Regions from separate parts of the Homo sapiens genome. Here regions 1, 3, 4 and 5 are each linked to region 2. Evidence: promoter capture Hi-C in human tissues and cell types (Jung and others, 2019). All regions are on one chromosome and are shown on one strand. The core of a region is centred on a gene start or on the middle of the fragment in contact, and the rest is flanking DNA. Distances in the headings are between cores, read along the strand shown. Region 1 overlaps RALY (RALY heterogeneous nuclear ribonucleoprotein). Region 2 holds the start of CDK5RAP1 (CDK5RAP1 mitochondrial tRNA methylthiotransferase). Region 3 overlaps RALY (RALY heterogeneous nuclear ribonucleoprotein). Region 4 overlaps RALY (RALY heterogeneous nuclear ribonucleoprotein). Region 5 has its middle 18 kb from the start of EIF2S2.

Evidence for each region. The method cuts DNA at HindIII sites, captures the fragments that hold promoters and counts their contacts. A contact is called where the count stands out against the background at its distance.
Region 1: a contact is called between a fragment that was not itself captured here and the fragment with the promoter of CDK5RAP1 in region 2, in 1 of the 25 tissues and cell types used here (small bowel).
Region 3: a contact is called between a fragment that was not itself captured here and the fragment with the promoter of CDK5RAP1 in region 2, in 1 of the 25 tissues and cell types used here (bladder).
Region 4: a contact is called between a fragment that was not itself captured here and the fragment with the promoter of CDK5RAP1 in region 2, in 2 of the 25 tissues and cell types used here (hippocampus and ovary).
Region 5: a contact is called between a fragment that was not itself captured here and the fragment with the promoter of CDK5RAP1 in region 2, in 1 of the 25 tissues and cell types used here (H1 embryonic stem cells).

What each region holds. Positions count from the first base shown.
Region 1 is chr20:34,003,546-34,006,245 of GRCh38, forward strand. All of the region lies in intron 1 of RALY (RALY heterogeneous nuclear ribonucleoprotein), which reads left to right. Among named protein-coding and RNA genes, the nearest start is that of RALY-AS1, 11 kb to the left of the region's middle. The HindIII fragment of the contact is 6,853 bases long and covers 1-2,700 here.
Region 2 is chr20:33,400,213-33,402,912 of GRCh38, forward strand. It overlaps CDK5RAP1 (CDK5RAP1 mitochondrial tRNA methylthiotransferase), which reads right to left and starts at 1,307. Exons shown (of 14, transcript NM_016408.4): 1 at 1,216-1,307. LOC124904889 (a long non-coding RNA gene) reads left to right here and starts at 1,370. Exons shown (of 2, transcript XR_007067567.1): 1 at 1,370-1,463. RefSeq lists enhancers at 1,018-1,107, 1,248-1,447. The HindIII fragment of the contact is 17,720 bases long and covers 1-2,700 here.
Region 3 is chr20:34,052,402-34,055,101 of GRCh38, forward strand. All of the region lies in intron 2 of RALY (RALY heterogeneous nuclear ribonucleoprotein), which reads left to right. Among named protein-coding and RNA genes, the nearest start is that of MIR4755, 4.6 kb to the left of the region's middle. The HindIII fragment of the contact is 3,882 bases long and covers 1-2,700 here.
Region 4 is chr20:34,022,212-34,024,911 of GRCh38, forward strand. The region is part of intron 1 of RALY (RALY heterogeneous nuclear ribonucleoprotein); the gene reads left to right. Among named protein-coding and RNA genes, the nearest start is that of MIR4755, 26 kb to the right of the region's middle. The HindIII fragment of the contact is 3,139 bases long and covers 1-2,700 here.
Region 5 is chr20:34,129,027-34,131,775 of GRCh38, forward strand. No RefSeq gene overlaps it. Among named protein-coding and RNA genes, the nearest start is that of EIF2S2, 18 kb to the left of the region's middle. RefSeq lists an enhancer at 677-971. The HindIII fragment of the contact is 4,025 bases long and covers 1-2,749 here.

The DNA.
Region 1 (2,700 bases), core at 168-2,667, 600 kb after region 2:
CAGCGGGAACAGTGAGTAAGTGTTCTCTAACCTCATACTGTAAGTCCTAGGTTAGGCATATGTTTACCTTTGGTAAATATGCCAAACAGTTTTTTTTTTTTTTTTTTTTTTTGAGACGGAGTCTCGCTCTGTCGCCCAGGCTGGAGTGCAGTGGCGGGATCTCGGCTCACTGCAAGCTCCGCCTCCCGGGTTCACGCCATTCTCCTGCCTCAGCCTCCCAAGTAGCTGGGACTACAGGCGCCCGCCACTACGCCTGGCTAATTTTTTGTATTTTTAGTAGAGACAGGGTTTCACCGTTTTAGCCGGGATGGTCTCGATCTCCTGACCTCGTGATCCGCCCGCCTCCGCCTCCCAAAGTGCTGGGATTACAGGCGTGAGCCACCGTGCCCGGCCTCCAAACAGTTTTAAAAGGTCTACCAGGTTACATGGTTAGTGATGAGAAAATTGCTGTTGTTCTGTGTTGTTGTAAATACTTGGCATTGTCTATCTTTTTCATTTGAAGCCATTCTGGTTAGTAGTTATAGATATGAATTTTAAGAACCATACTATGAATTCTCACATAGCAAGTACCATAAAGGGGTACAATGATTGGGAAGTTCAGAAGGGGAAGAGATTGCTTCCTTTGTACATGGAGGAGGGGCAGAGGGGGAGTTCCCAAGGAACATTTGTGGACCAGTGAGTATTTGTGCTGGACTTTGTAGGATAAGGATAATGACCATCTGTTGTCCAGGACCATTTTAATTTCTAATATTCTGTCTGGTTGTACTTACAGATTATGAAATACCAATCAATATTGCCATGTCTGTACCTTATCTCCCATACTATGCAGAAGCAACACCCAGTTATCTTTTCTCAACCGATGTGCTTCCCTTCCCCCCTTTTCCAGAAAGAATGGTCACAGGTGATTAGGCTGCAGAGATGGAGAACATTCTGTGCAATGGGAACAACTTGAGTAGAGGCACAGATGAATGACTAGACCGAGTAGTATCCATATTCCTGCTAATGAGCAGGTGGTGGAAGTGTCCCACACTTTGGAGATGGGTGATACCTTCTCATAGCCTCTCAGAGCAGAACAAGGTCATGTCGTTATGAAGCCAATTTGTATTTAAACTGGATAAAAGGATGAGAATGAGCTCTTTGCTTATACTTACATCATTTCAAGAAAGAAATTAATCCAGTAAACAGTCATACCTGAAGTATATCAAAAGAGAGTTTTTCTTCTTAAAATGGTTGGGGAGGGAATACTAAAACCTAAAGAACTTAGTCTCTCAGAGCTCATCTATTAGTTGTATATTTGCTCAGGGAAAAATTGCCATTTCTTTGTCAGCTTTTATCCTGCCGGTGGACCCTAGCTGGGTGTTTATTTTGTGTAGTTTTACCAAATCACTTTGAAGGTTGGCATGAACATTGATCATGTCTTAGAGCCTTTCCTCTTTGTTCTGTCAGCAAATATTAGAAAATGTACCTTAAATTACCTGGTTGGGGAAAATAGGGTGGCCCTGCCTCCTTCCAGAGAGCAGCATTTTCATGTTAAACATTAGTCAGCTTCTGATCCTGTGTCAGGTCGCGGGGTGTTTGTCAAGATAGACAGGGTGCTAGAGATGCCACTAGGGACATTCACTAGAGAATTTCTAGGCCCCCTCTCGAGGAGACTAGTCGAGTAGTTGATTTAAAAATCTGATGGGCTGGGTGCAGTGGCTCATGGCCTGTAATCCTGACACTTTGGGAGGCTGAGGCAGGCAGATCATGAGGTCAGGAGATCGAGACCATCCTGACGGAGTAGTGAAACCCCGTCTCTACTAAAAATAGCAAAATTAGCTGGGCGTGGTGGCGCGTGCCTGTAATCCCAGCTACTGGGGAGGCTGAAGCAGGAGAATCACTTGAACCAGGGAGTTGGAGGTTGTAATGAGCCAAGATCGTGCCACTGCGCTCCAGCCTGGTGACAGAGTGAGACTCTTTCTCAAAAAAAAAAAAAATCTGACCTGGGTTTTAAATGTTAACACAGCCTTGCATATTAGTGATATTGAGTGTCCACTGTGTTGAGATATCATACTTGGTACCTTTTGTTTATACTAATAGAGCTAATATTTACTGAAGGTTACTATGTGCGAAGCCTTTTATACATATAAAATATTATTTCATTCTCACCTCAACCCTAAGAAGTAGGTTGTATTGATCGTGATCATACAGATTGGAAACTGAGACAAAGGGAGGTTAAGAGATATGCCGTGGGCAACCACTGGTCTTTTTATAGTCTTCACAGATACGTCTTTGCAGAACGTCATACAGTTGGAATCATACAGTATGTAGCCTTTTCAGATTTGCCTCTTTCACTTAGTAATATCCATTTAAGTTTCTTCCATGTCTTTTTATGTTTTGATAGCTCATTTCTGTTTAATGCTGAATAATATTTCATTGTCTGGATGTGCCACAGTTTATCCACCTATTGAAGGTGTCATTGGTTGCTTCCAAATTTTGTCAATTATGAATAAAGATGCTATAAACAAACAAAAGAAAGATATGCCGTGGTCACGCTGCTGATATGATAGATGGAGTTGGCTAGGATTGAAACCTAACCAATTCCTCTTTATTTTTAATATGGAAAATTTCAAACATACACAAAATCGAATAGGTTAATGAAATATGATTTACCCATCACTTGGCTTCAACAGTTAGCAATTCATTGTCAGTCTTGTTTCA
Region 2 (2,700 bases), core at 57-2,556:
TCACAGGCCACAGACAGGTACCATTCTACCACCTAGGGTTAGGGGAACCCTGCTATACACGTGTAAAGAGCAGATGTGGCCCATTACCTTTCCAATGAGATGACCTGCCACATCTGCTACTAGCACTTAGGAGCAATGCCAACCCAGTTTCAAGAGTCAGAGAAGAACAGCCTTAAAGTGTGAACTTTAAAATCGCCCCTTTCTACTCCATAATTGCTGTGTGACCTTTGGCAAGACAAATTTCTGTCTCTGAGCCGCCAATTCCACATGTGTAAAATAAGGATAAAAGCAGCACCTACCACCCCATAAGTGTTATTAAGAATAAGATATTAAAAACCCAACTTGAGATACAGTAAGCGTTCACTAACTGCACATTTACAGCCCACACCCCCTTTCACAGAGAGTATTAGAGCATCCTGGTTAAGAGTATGAACTCCACTAAAAATACAAAACTTAGCCGGGTGTGGTGGTATGCGCCTGTAATCCTAGCTACCCAGGAGGCTGAGGCAGGAGAATCGCTGGAACTCGCGGGGCAGGGGCTACAGTGAGCCGAGATCGCGTCACTGCACTCCAGCCTGGGCGACAGAGCAAGACTCCCGTCTCAAGAAAAAAAAAGTATGGACCCTGGAGTCAGAATCTGACCCCACTGCTGCCAAGCCAGCTAAACCTTAGGCACCTGTCTTAAACTCTGGGAGCCTCTAGATGGGGATAATAGCACCTATCTCCATAAGCCTACCGTAGGATCAAATGCAATAATACAAGCAAAATGCTTTGCATAACGCAATGTAGAAGCCTCTCTGGAGGCTCGAAATTAATTCTGACAGTCGGCAATGAGGCTGGAACAACAGCGTACAACATCCCAAACATTTTATTGGCTGGTTACAATGCGTTAGGCATGGTGCAAAGCATTTTCCGCGAATTATTACCTATAACCCTCATAGCAACCCTGTGAGGCAGGCTGTACTGTCAACCCCACTTCACGGGTGGCGAAGCGAAGCCTTGAAAGAAGTGGAGGTGACCTGTCCAAGGTCACACGGGGTTAGGCGGCGGGGTTAGGGTACGAACCCCTACAGCCTGACGCCAGGCCCCACGCCATAACCACCGTGCCATCCTCCCTCTTGAACACCGTGCGCTTCCCGGGATCCGCGGCCCCTCCTGCCCCAGGCGCCAGTCAAAAGCGGGTGCGCAGCCCACCCCGGCGGCCGCGCTGCTCACCTCCCGCAGCAGCAACAGTGCCCGGGGTCCCGCAGCGTAAGTTCTGCCGGCAAGTCGGATCCCCTCACAGGTCCGCCGCTGCGTTCATACACAAGCGACTTCCGTTCCGCCGCTACTTCAGGCCGGGTCATGCTAACGGAAGTGCTTCCTTTTTACAGTCCGGGTGGACCCAAAGCTCCGTGGCGGTGCTGAACTTTAGGGCAGCCACTAGCCACGGACTTAAGCGGCAATTGAGCTCCTCAAAGTGGGTGAGTGCAAATCAAATGTGCGCTAAATGTCAGATACACTGGATGTGGAAGAAGAAATGTCAAATAGTGTCAAATAGTTCATATATATAATGTTTATATTGATTATGTGCTGCAATAATTGTTGGGATATATTGGATTAAATAAGTACATTTGTTGAATTAGTTTTTTTTATTTGTAGCTATGGTGGTAGAAATATTTGAATTAAGTTCACCTGTTGTTTCTTTTTACTTTTTCAATGTGGCTAGCAGGGGGAAAAATAATATGGTGTGATCATGGCTCACTGCAGCTTCCGCCTCCCATGCTAAAGCAATCCTCCCACCTCACACTCCCAAGTGGCTGGGACTACAGGCAGGCGCCACCACGCCCAGCTAAAATTTTTTTAATTTTTTTGTAGAGACCGGTCTCCCCATGTTGCCCAGGCTGGTCTCAAACTCCTACCTAGGCGCAAGCCATCCTCCCACCTTGGCCTCCCAAAGTGCTGGGATTGTAGGCATGAGCCACCGTGTCCGGTCCTTACTGGGAAATTTTAAGTCACCTAAGAGGTTCACGCTCTATTTCTATTGGAGGGTGCTGCCCTGTAGGTTAATGACTTCCTGATTCACATCTCCAGCTGGACCCTCCCTGCAGTACCAGAGCCATAGCTCAGCTGCCTACTTGACACCCCTTCTTGAGTGTCTGATGACCATCTCTAACTTATACAGAACTCTTCATTTCCACACATGCACCTTCACCAAAAACCTGTACCTGTCATTCTGGCCCATCTCAGTAAATGGCCCAACCATCCTTCCAGGTGCACTAGGAGGAACTGAATGGTCATTTTCTTCACCTCCCTGGATCCCCACATTCTATCTGTCAGTAAGCCCTGTCAACTCTAACTCCAAAATGTCAAATCTGTCTACTCGGTAGCTACAACTACCCAGGCCACCATTGTCTCATCAGAAACAATCACAGTAGCCTGCTAATGGTCACCTTGTCTCCTGAGAACAGTTTCCCACACATAGCCTAAGGGAATTTGTGTTTGTTTTATTAAATCAAATTATATCACCCCTCTCCTGAAAACTCTCCGTGGCAGGCCGGGCGTGGTGGCTCACATCTGTAATCCCAGCACTTTGGGAGGCCAAGATGGGCAGATTGCTTGAGCCCAGGAGTTCTAGACTAGCCTGAGCAACATGATAAAACCCCATCTCTACAAAAAACACAAAAATTACCCCGGCATGGTGGTGGGTACCTGTGGTCC
Region 3 (2,700 bases), core at 111-2,610, 650 kb after region 2:
CAAGGTCTACAGCCCATGGCAGAACCAAGTCTAAATCTCAGGGTGCCTAACTTTTTCCTAGGCCACACCATAATTTGTACTCCACTATTGTTCCTTTTCTAGCCAGCAAATCCTAAAATTACAGAGGATCCTGCAAACCACTAATCAGAGAGCATTGTTAGAGCATCAAGCTTTCTGTTTTGATGTGTTTATCCCAGTAGGCAGGAAAATGAGGAAACAACAGGCTTAATGGCCATCAGATGTTTCCAAACAGTTGAAGGACCAGGGGTCAAGTAATTATCTCAGTAACTGGAAAGGTGCCCTTACCGTGCAAAGTCGAACTCTGTTCTTCCTGCTGTAAGAAATTTGAGTTATATCTGGGGGACTCATCCAGTAGGCCCACAGTCCCCACAGTCCAGCTCCTACTAAGAACTAAGCTCTGACACCAGTAATATAAAAAAGATCCTGAGAGGGGTTTGAAGAGAATGTGTAAGTTTCTGCTCCTCTGTCACCGTCTCCATCACAAAATTGAGGGGGTAGGAATGTTCTGCTGGATTTCTATCCAGACAGTGGCAGAGGAAGTTGGCTTTGGCATTTAGTGGGGCTATCCTTGCATTTTACTAAGCCCTCTAGTTAAGATCAAATCAAGTTTAAAAAGAAACTTTTTTTTTTTTTCACTCTGTTGGCCAGGCTGATCTCGAACTCCTGACCTCAGGTGATCCGCCTGCCTCGGCCTCCCAAAGTGCTGGGATTACAGGTGTGAGCCACCACATCCAGCCCAAAAATATCACCTTTAAATTTGCAAGTTTATATGGTAGATTGTTCAAAGCACATCTGATCACAACACAATCCCGTGACATAGAGGTTCTTTTCCATGTATCATATGAGGACGTTAAGGTTCAGAAAAGAGATGGTGACTTGTCCAGGGTTTGACGGCAAATTAGTGATAGACCCTTTTCACAAGTGCCTAGTGCAAGGCCAACATTTAGTAGATGTTCAATAATTTTTTTTTTTTTTTTTTTTTTTTTTTTTTTTGAGACAAGGCCTCGCTGTGTCACCCAGGCTATAGTGCAATGGCACAGTCATGGCTCACTGCAGGTCCAACCTTCTGGGCTCAAGCAGTCCTCCCACCTCAGCCTCCCAAGTAACTGGGACTATAAACATGTACCACCATGCCCGGCTAATTTTTAATTGTTTTTAGAGACAGGCTCCCACTATATTGCCCAGACTGGTCTTGAACTCCTGAGCTCAAGCAGTCCTCCTGCTTTGGCCTCCCAAAGTATTAGGATTACAGGCGTGAGCCACCATGCCTAGCCAAGAAATATTTATTAATTGAAAATTTTAGTACATTCTCAGGGATTAACTTATGGTCTCCTAACTCTTTGCCCAGTATTCTTTCCATTAAGATAGCTTGGTGGGGCCAGTGGTTGGGCTTCATCTCAGGGTGACCAGATAATAAAGAGAGGGAGGGCTGAATCTCTGTCACTATTGATATTGCTGACAAGGATGGCATTTTCTGGCCTTTGCTGCTGTCCTTATACATACTACCCACTACAGAAAGCCCAGATTCAGTAGTCTCTGGGCTGCAGACTCAAGCTTTTGTTGCCTTTGCTCCCTGTAGTATACTGAACAATGATGCCAGTGACCCCCAGCTTCTCACTCTGCCTTCTCCTTTATTTTCTTTCTCATCAGTGTCTTACATCTCCTTCTATTCTGCTGATGGATGAGGAATTTGAGCTCATCTCACAAACATCAGCTACACGGTTCACTGTTAAGGAGTTGTTGTATCATGTACCTTGGGAAACCATTTACTGAAAAACGCCCACCTAGGATTCTTTCACCTGTTCACTAGCAGAAATTTCACTGGTTGCTAGTATAGTGCTGGAGGCTGGGATTGCAAAGATTAATAAAATAGTCTCTGCCTTCAAGGAGTTCAGAATTTAATGGAGGGAGACAGATGTGTAAATACAAAAGTGCAGCAGATGTTGCAGTAGAGGTCAGCAGAGAGTATCTGGGTCCAGAGGAGTGAGTGGCTGGATCTGCCTACGGGGTGGGATACAAAAGCTTTCCCGAAGAGTTTTCTACAGGGACGTCACATCAGTGGGTTTGTACTCAGAAAACTCCTGGCCCCAGCCACCACTGCCAGATCAGAAATTGGTTGCAGGCTGGGCATGGTGGCTCAAGCCTGTAATCCCAGCACTTCGGGAGGCTGAGGCAGGTGGATCACTTGAGGTCAGGCGTTCGAGACCAGCCTGACCAATGTGGTGAAACTTTGTCTCTACTAAAAATACAAAAATTAGCCAGGCGTGATGGTGTATGCCTGGCATCCCAGCTACTTGGGGGGCTGAGGCACAAGAATCGCTTGAACCTGGGAGGTGGAGGTTGCAGTGAGCTGAGGTCACACTCCAGCCTGGGTGACAGAATGAGACTGTCTCAAAAAAAAAAAAAAGAAAGAAAGAAAGAAATTGGTTCCAGTTGTACTTTATTGATGAAGCGGTCTCCCTCTTAACCTTACTCAATGTTGAGTATGATATTTTGAGCTATCTGTTAAATGGGGGCAATAGTAATACCATTTTCATTTAGAAAATTCCTGAGCACTTAACTTGCATTATCTTAACATTATCTCATTGAATTCTCACAACAGCCTTATGGAGAAAGTACTGTAATATTATTCCCATTTTTACAAATGAGAAAACCAGGCACAGAGAGGTTAAATCATTT
Region 4 (2,700 bases), core at 83-2,582, 620 kb after region 2:
AGCCACCATGCACAGCCTGGACAAAGCTCTTATTCTCTTCTCTATACCTTATACCTCACCCCTAGTTTTTAAGTTTGAGGGCCCTCTAGTGGAAAAGACAGATACCGTAGAAAATCTGGATCATAGTATGAGTTGAGAAGTTGGGGATGGGTAGGCAGAAGGTTTTGATCACTCAAAGCAGCTGATGTTGTGGGTGGAGGGGCTTATGATACTTTGAGACACCCTATACCTTTCCCCTCCATAACTGTTGACACTTGTTCTGGCCAGTTTGAACTTGTTTCTGCCCCTCAACTGCCAGAGCACATAAGGCCCCTACGAAACTAAAGGCTGGCTTTATCCCTCAGTCACCTTTACCAAACAGAAACTTTGTAAGTGCCACTTGATGTCCCTATGTGCCTCTCCCTGCCACTCTACTGAGCCTCCTATGCCTCACTTCCTTTTTCCTTCAGCACTGTGCATCTGCCCTGAAGGACGGAAAAAGTACCATCTAGGGAGACCACAGTGGTGAGTTTTAAGCTCATTTCTGCCTTCAGCTTCCTATGTGACCAAAGGCAATTCATTTCATGTCTCTGGCCCTTCTGTAGGCTCCAGTGCAGATTATCTTCAGCCACTTTTTGGGACTTGGGATTTCTTCTCTAAGCCTCCAGCTTCATAGCATAGCATTTTTTCCCCCAAAGTTCCCCTCTCTTTTCAATCTAGAATATTAGTATATGCTCAAAGATCATTTGCTTGAAATTCACTACCTTCACCTGTGAGGAGAGTAGTCGTATCTGTTTTTATTGGTAGAGTTCCAGGAACTGGCAGTCAGTCTGACTGCTAGAGTGGAACAGACCCCGTCAGCAAGGCATGATGTCTCCAGGATGGGCTGTGTAGTTCAGTACAGACAAACTTTTGGCCCTGGGAATCCAAGATACAGTAGAGGAAGAAGGGCCAGGCACTAGTCTAGGCAGTTTACGTAATTTTTTCCCCTCATTTATCTTCACTATTCTGAGGTAGGTGATTTAATCACCATTTTACAAATGTGAGGACTTAAGTTTTAGAGAGTATCATTTGGTAGACAGTGACTGACTCATTGTGGATACAGGAAAACAACTGAATATTTCTTGCTCCCAAGTAGGGAAGAGTGGTAGAAGAGACAGGCAAGTGAACGGTGGTCAAAGCACCAAGGATACCCAGTTTTGGTGGGAGAGCCATGGCTTAAACCTAGGTCTATCTGCTAATTGTTTCTACTATATGCTGCCTTCCTTACAGAGGGGTGGAGAGAGCAGCAAACCCAAGTGGACATCCAGGCTGGCAAGCAGTCTCTGGACAATGGCCATTGGTGGGGAGGCCTGTCCTTGGATTTTGAGTTGGGCTTTAGTTCGAGGGGGTGGGGGTCTGAAGTCTTAAGCGGGTGACTAAGGCAGGGGCTCTCATGTGGAGCTAACCCCATTTATAGAATAAAGCACCTAATTTTGTGCACTCTAGAAAGTGAAGCCTTATGGTCAGCACTGATCATATGCTGGAGTATCACAAGAGCCCCACAGTCAGTCTATGGTATAATAGGGCCAGAACCAGTCTCCTTATTCCCAATCAGGCCACCTCTCACCTCACTCAGACTTAATACAGTATAGAATAACTTTGGAGGGGACCTCAGTGTGGAGGCTGGAACTGCAAATTTCAAGCTTACATATCAGTTTTTGAATAGGTATTCAAAAACCAATGACAGGCTGGGTGTGGTGGCTCACGCCTGTAATCCCAGCACTTTGGGAGTCCAAGGCGGGCGGATCACCTGAGATTATCAGGAGTTCGAGACCAGCCTGGCCAACATGGTCTGAGTGAGGTGAGAGGTGGCCTGATTGGGAATAAGGAGACTGGTTCTGGCCCTGCCACTGACTTCCCTCTGTGACTTTGGACAGATTCCCCTCCCTGCTCTGGTCTTACCTCCCTTTTTATAAAATGGTTGAGCCCTTCCAACTCTGGTCTCATCAGGGGCATGAAAGCCATTTTCTACACAGTCTCAGTTGCACAGAGCAGTGTCTGGTCGGAGCTTTGGTGTGTTGGTTACTGATTATAAAGCTTTAGATTCTCACTTCCAGCTCAAGAGGGGGAAGGGGAACCATCCAACTGTCTCATTAGCATGGAGAAAAGAAAACAGTAATTACTCGTGCCTCCCTTGATAATTCCTGCAGGGTTGGATCTTCTAGGGAAGGAGGAGGGGAAAACTAGAGATAGCTTCAGCTGAGAAAGGAGAAATGCTGTTAGCTGCCCAGAAAATGCAGAGGCAAGAATGATTGTCTTGCACATCTGTTGTATTCTGTGGACGTTCCTCCAGGCAGCTTGGAGACTGCCTAGATTGAGTTTCATCTATTTATGGCATGCATTATGTTCTCATACGTGAACATGGGTTGGGCTCAAGACCCCTAATGTCACCTGTCATTAAGAAACCAGCTGTCCTCTAGGGCCTACTTTTTGATACACTGGGCATCCTGACACCTGTCTTTGTTTGGGAGTATGGGAGGGTTTTACTGACCCATTTTGTGTCCTGGCTGCATTTTTTATTATGTTGTGAGGTCATTTTTTTTACCCCCACAGCAACACAGCCAGTAGTTTTATTATGCCTGGGCATAGGCAACCATACAGTAGAGCCAGTCACAAGAGTCAAGGTCAGGTATCCTTGTGAGGGGAGGAGTCTGGGAGAACTGCAAGACCATGGGGTTT
Region 5 (2,749 bases), core at 152-2,651, 730 kb after region 2:
AATTCAAGAAAGTAACGCAAGGTTCACAGTATAAAAAGGTAGATGAGTCTGGCTGGGCGCAGTGGCTCACACCTGTAATCCCAGCACTGTGGGAGGCCGAGGCGGATGGATCACAAGGTCAGGAGATCGAGACCGTCCTGGCTAACACAGTGAAACCCTGTCTTTACTAAAAAAATACAAAAACTTAGCCAGGCGTCGTGGCAGGTGTCTGTAGTCCCAGCTACTCGGGAGGCTGAGGCAGGAGAATGGCGTGAACCTGGGAGGCGGAGCTTGCAGTGAGCCGAGATGGCACCACTGCACTCCAGCCTGGGCAACAGAGCGAGACTCCGTCTCGAAAAAAAAAAAAAGAAAAAAAGGGTAGAAGAGTGTAATGGCTCAGTCAACGGAAAATGTTGACTACAACCAATTACAGGAGGTAATATATTATGAACCATCAAAATTGGGGGGAAAAGGTCTAGAACTATTGGGGCCATCAGAGTCTAACCCACGATGGCCAACTCCTCCTCCCACAGTTCAGATGCCCGTAACATTACAACCTCAAATGCAGGTTAGACAAGTACAAACCCCAAGAGAATATCAGATAGAAAAGGATAGTCTCTATCACAGCAATGCCAATCCAGATACAGTATTCACAATATCAGCTGGTAGAAAGTAAGACCCAACCGCCAGTACCCTATCAATACTGACCGCCAGCCGAACTTCAGTATCAGCCGCCCCCCAGAAAATCAGTATGGACAGCCAGGAACGTTTCCAGCACCACAGGGCACGCACGGCGATATAGCCTCAGCTGCCCACTATGAGACTTAATCCTACACCACCACCTAGTGGACAGGATGGTGCATTACATGAAATTATTGAGAAGGCAAGAAAACAAGGAGAGATACTGAGGCGTTTTAATTTCAAGTAATATTAGAGCCCATACTACCTGGAGAAGGGCCCTCCCCAAGCTGATGCCAGATATGAGTCCTTTTCTATAAAAATGCTAAAAGACATGAAAGAGGGAGTAAAACAGTATGGACCCAATTCTCCTTATATGAGAACATTATTAGATTCCATTGCTCATGGAAATAGACTTATTCCTTATGACTGGGAAATTTTGGCCAAATCATCACTCTCACCTTCTCAATTTTTACAATTTAAGACCTGGTGGATTGATGGGGTACAACAACAGATCCGCAAAAATAGGGCCGCCAATCCCAGTTAACATAGATGCAGGTAAAAAATAGAAAAATTAAACCACAAAAAATAGAAATAAGAAAAGACACATTAAAAACATTAAATGACTTTCAAAAATTGCTAGGAGATATTAATTGGATTTGGCCAATTTTAGGCATTCCTACTTATGCCATGTCAAATTTGTTCTCTATCTTAAGAGGGGACCCGGACTTAAATAGTAAAAGAATATTGACCCCAGAGGCAGCAAAAGAAATTGAATTAGTTGAAGAAAAAATTTGGTCAGCACAAGTAAATAGAATAGATCCCTTGGTCCCACTCCAACTTTTGATTTTTGCTACTGCACATTCTCTGACAGGCATCATTGTTCAAAATACTGATCTTGTGGAGTGGTCATTCCTTCCTCACAGTACAATTAAGACTTTTACATTGCATCAAATAGCTACATTAATTGGTCAGGCAAGGTTATGAATAATAAAATTGTGTGGAAGTGACCCAGACAAAATCATTGTTCCTTTAAACAAGGAACAGGTTAGACAAGCCTTTATCAATTCTTGTACATGGCAGACTGGTCTTGCTGATTTTGTGGGAATTATTGACAATCATTACCCAAAAACAAAAACCTTCCAGTTTTTAAAATTGACTACTTGGATTTTACCTAAAATTACCAGACATGAACCTTTAGAAAATGCTCTGACGGTGTTTACTAATGGTTCCAGCAATGAAAAAGCAGCTTACATTGGGCCAAAAGAACAAGTCATCGAAACTCAATATCACTGGGCTCAAAGAGCAGAGTTGGTTACAGTCATTACAGTGTTACAAGATTTTAATCAGCCTATTAATATTGTATCAGATTCTGCATATGTAGTACAGGCTACAAGGGATGTTGAGACAGCCCTAATCAAATATAGTATTGATGATCAGTTAAACCAGCTGTTCAACTTATTACAACAAACTGTGAGAAAAAGAAATTTCCCATTTTGTATTACTCACATTGAAGCACACACTAATTTACCAGGGTCTTTAACTAAAGCAAATGAACAAGCTGACTTACTGGTATCATCTGCATTCATAAAAGCACAAGAACTTCATGCTTTGACTCATGTAAATGCAGCAGGATTAAAAATAAATTTGATATCTCATGGAAACAGGCAAAAAATATTGTACAACATTGCACCCAGAGTCAAGTCCTACACCTGCCCACTCAAGAGGCGGGAGTTAATCCCAGAGGTCTATGTCCTAATGCGTTATGGCAAACGGATGTCACACATGTATCTTCATTTGGAAAATTATCATTTGTCCATGTGACAGTTGATACTTATTCACATTTCGTATGGGCAACTTGCGAGACAGGAGAAAGTACTTCCCATGTTAAAAGACATTTATTATATTGTTTTGCTCTCATGGGAGTTCTGGAAAAAATTAAAACTGACAATGGGCCAGGATACTGTAGTAAAACATTCCAAAAATTCTTAAATCAGTGGAAAATTACACATACAACAGGAATTCCCTATAATTCCCAAGGATAGGCCATAGTTGAAAGAACTAATAGAACACTCAAAACTCAATTGGTTAA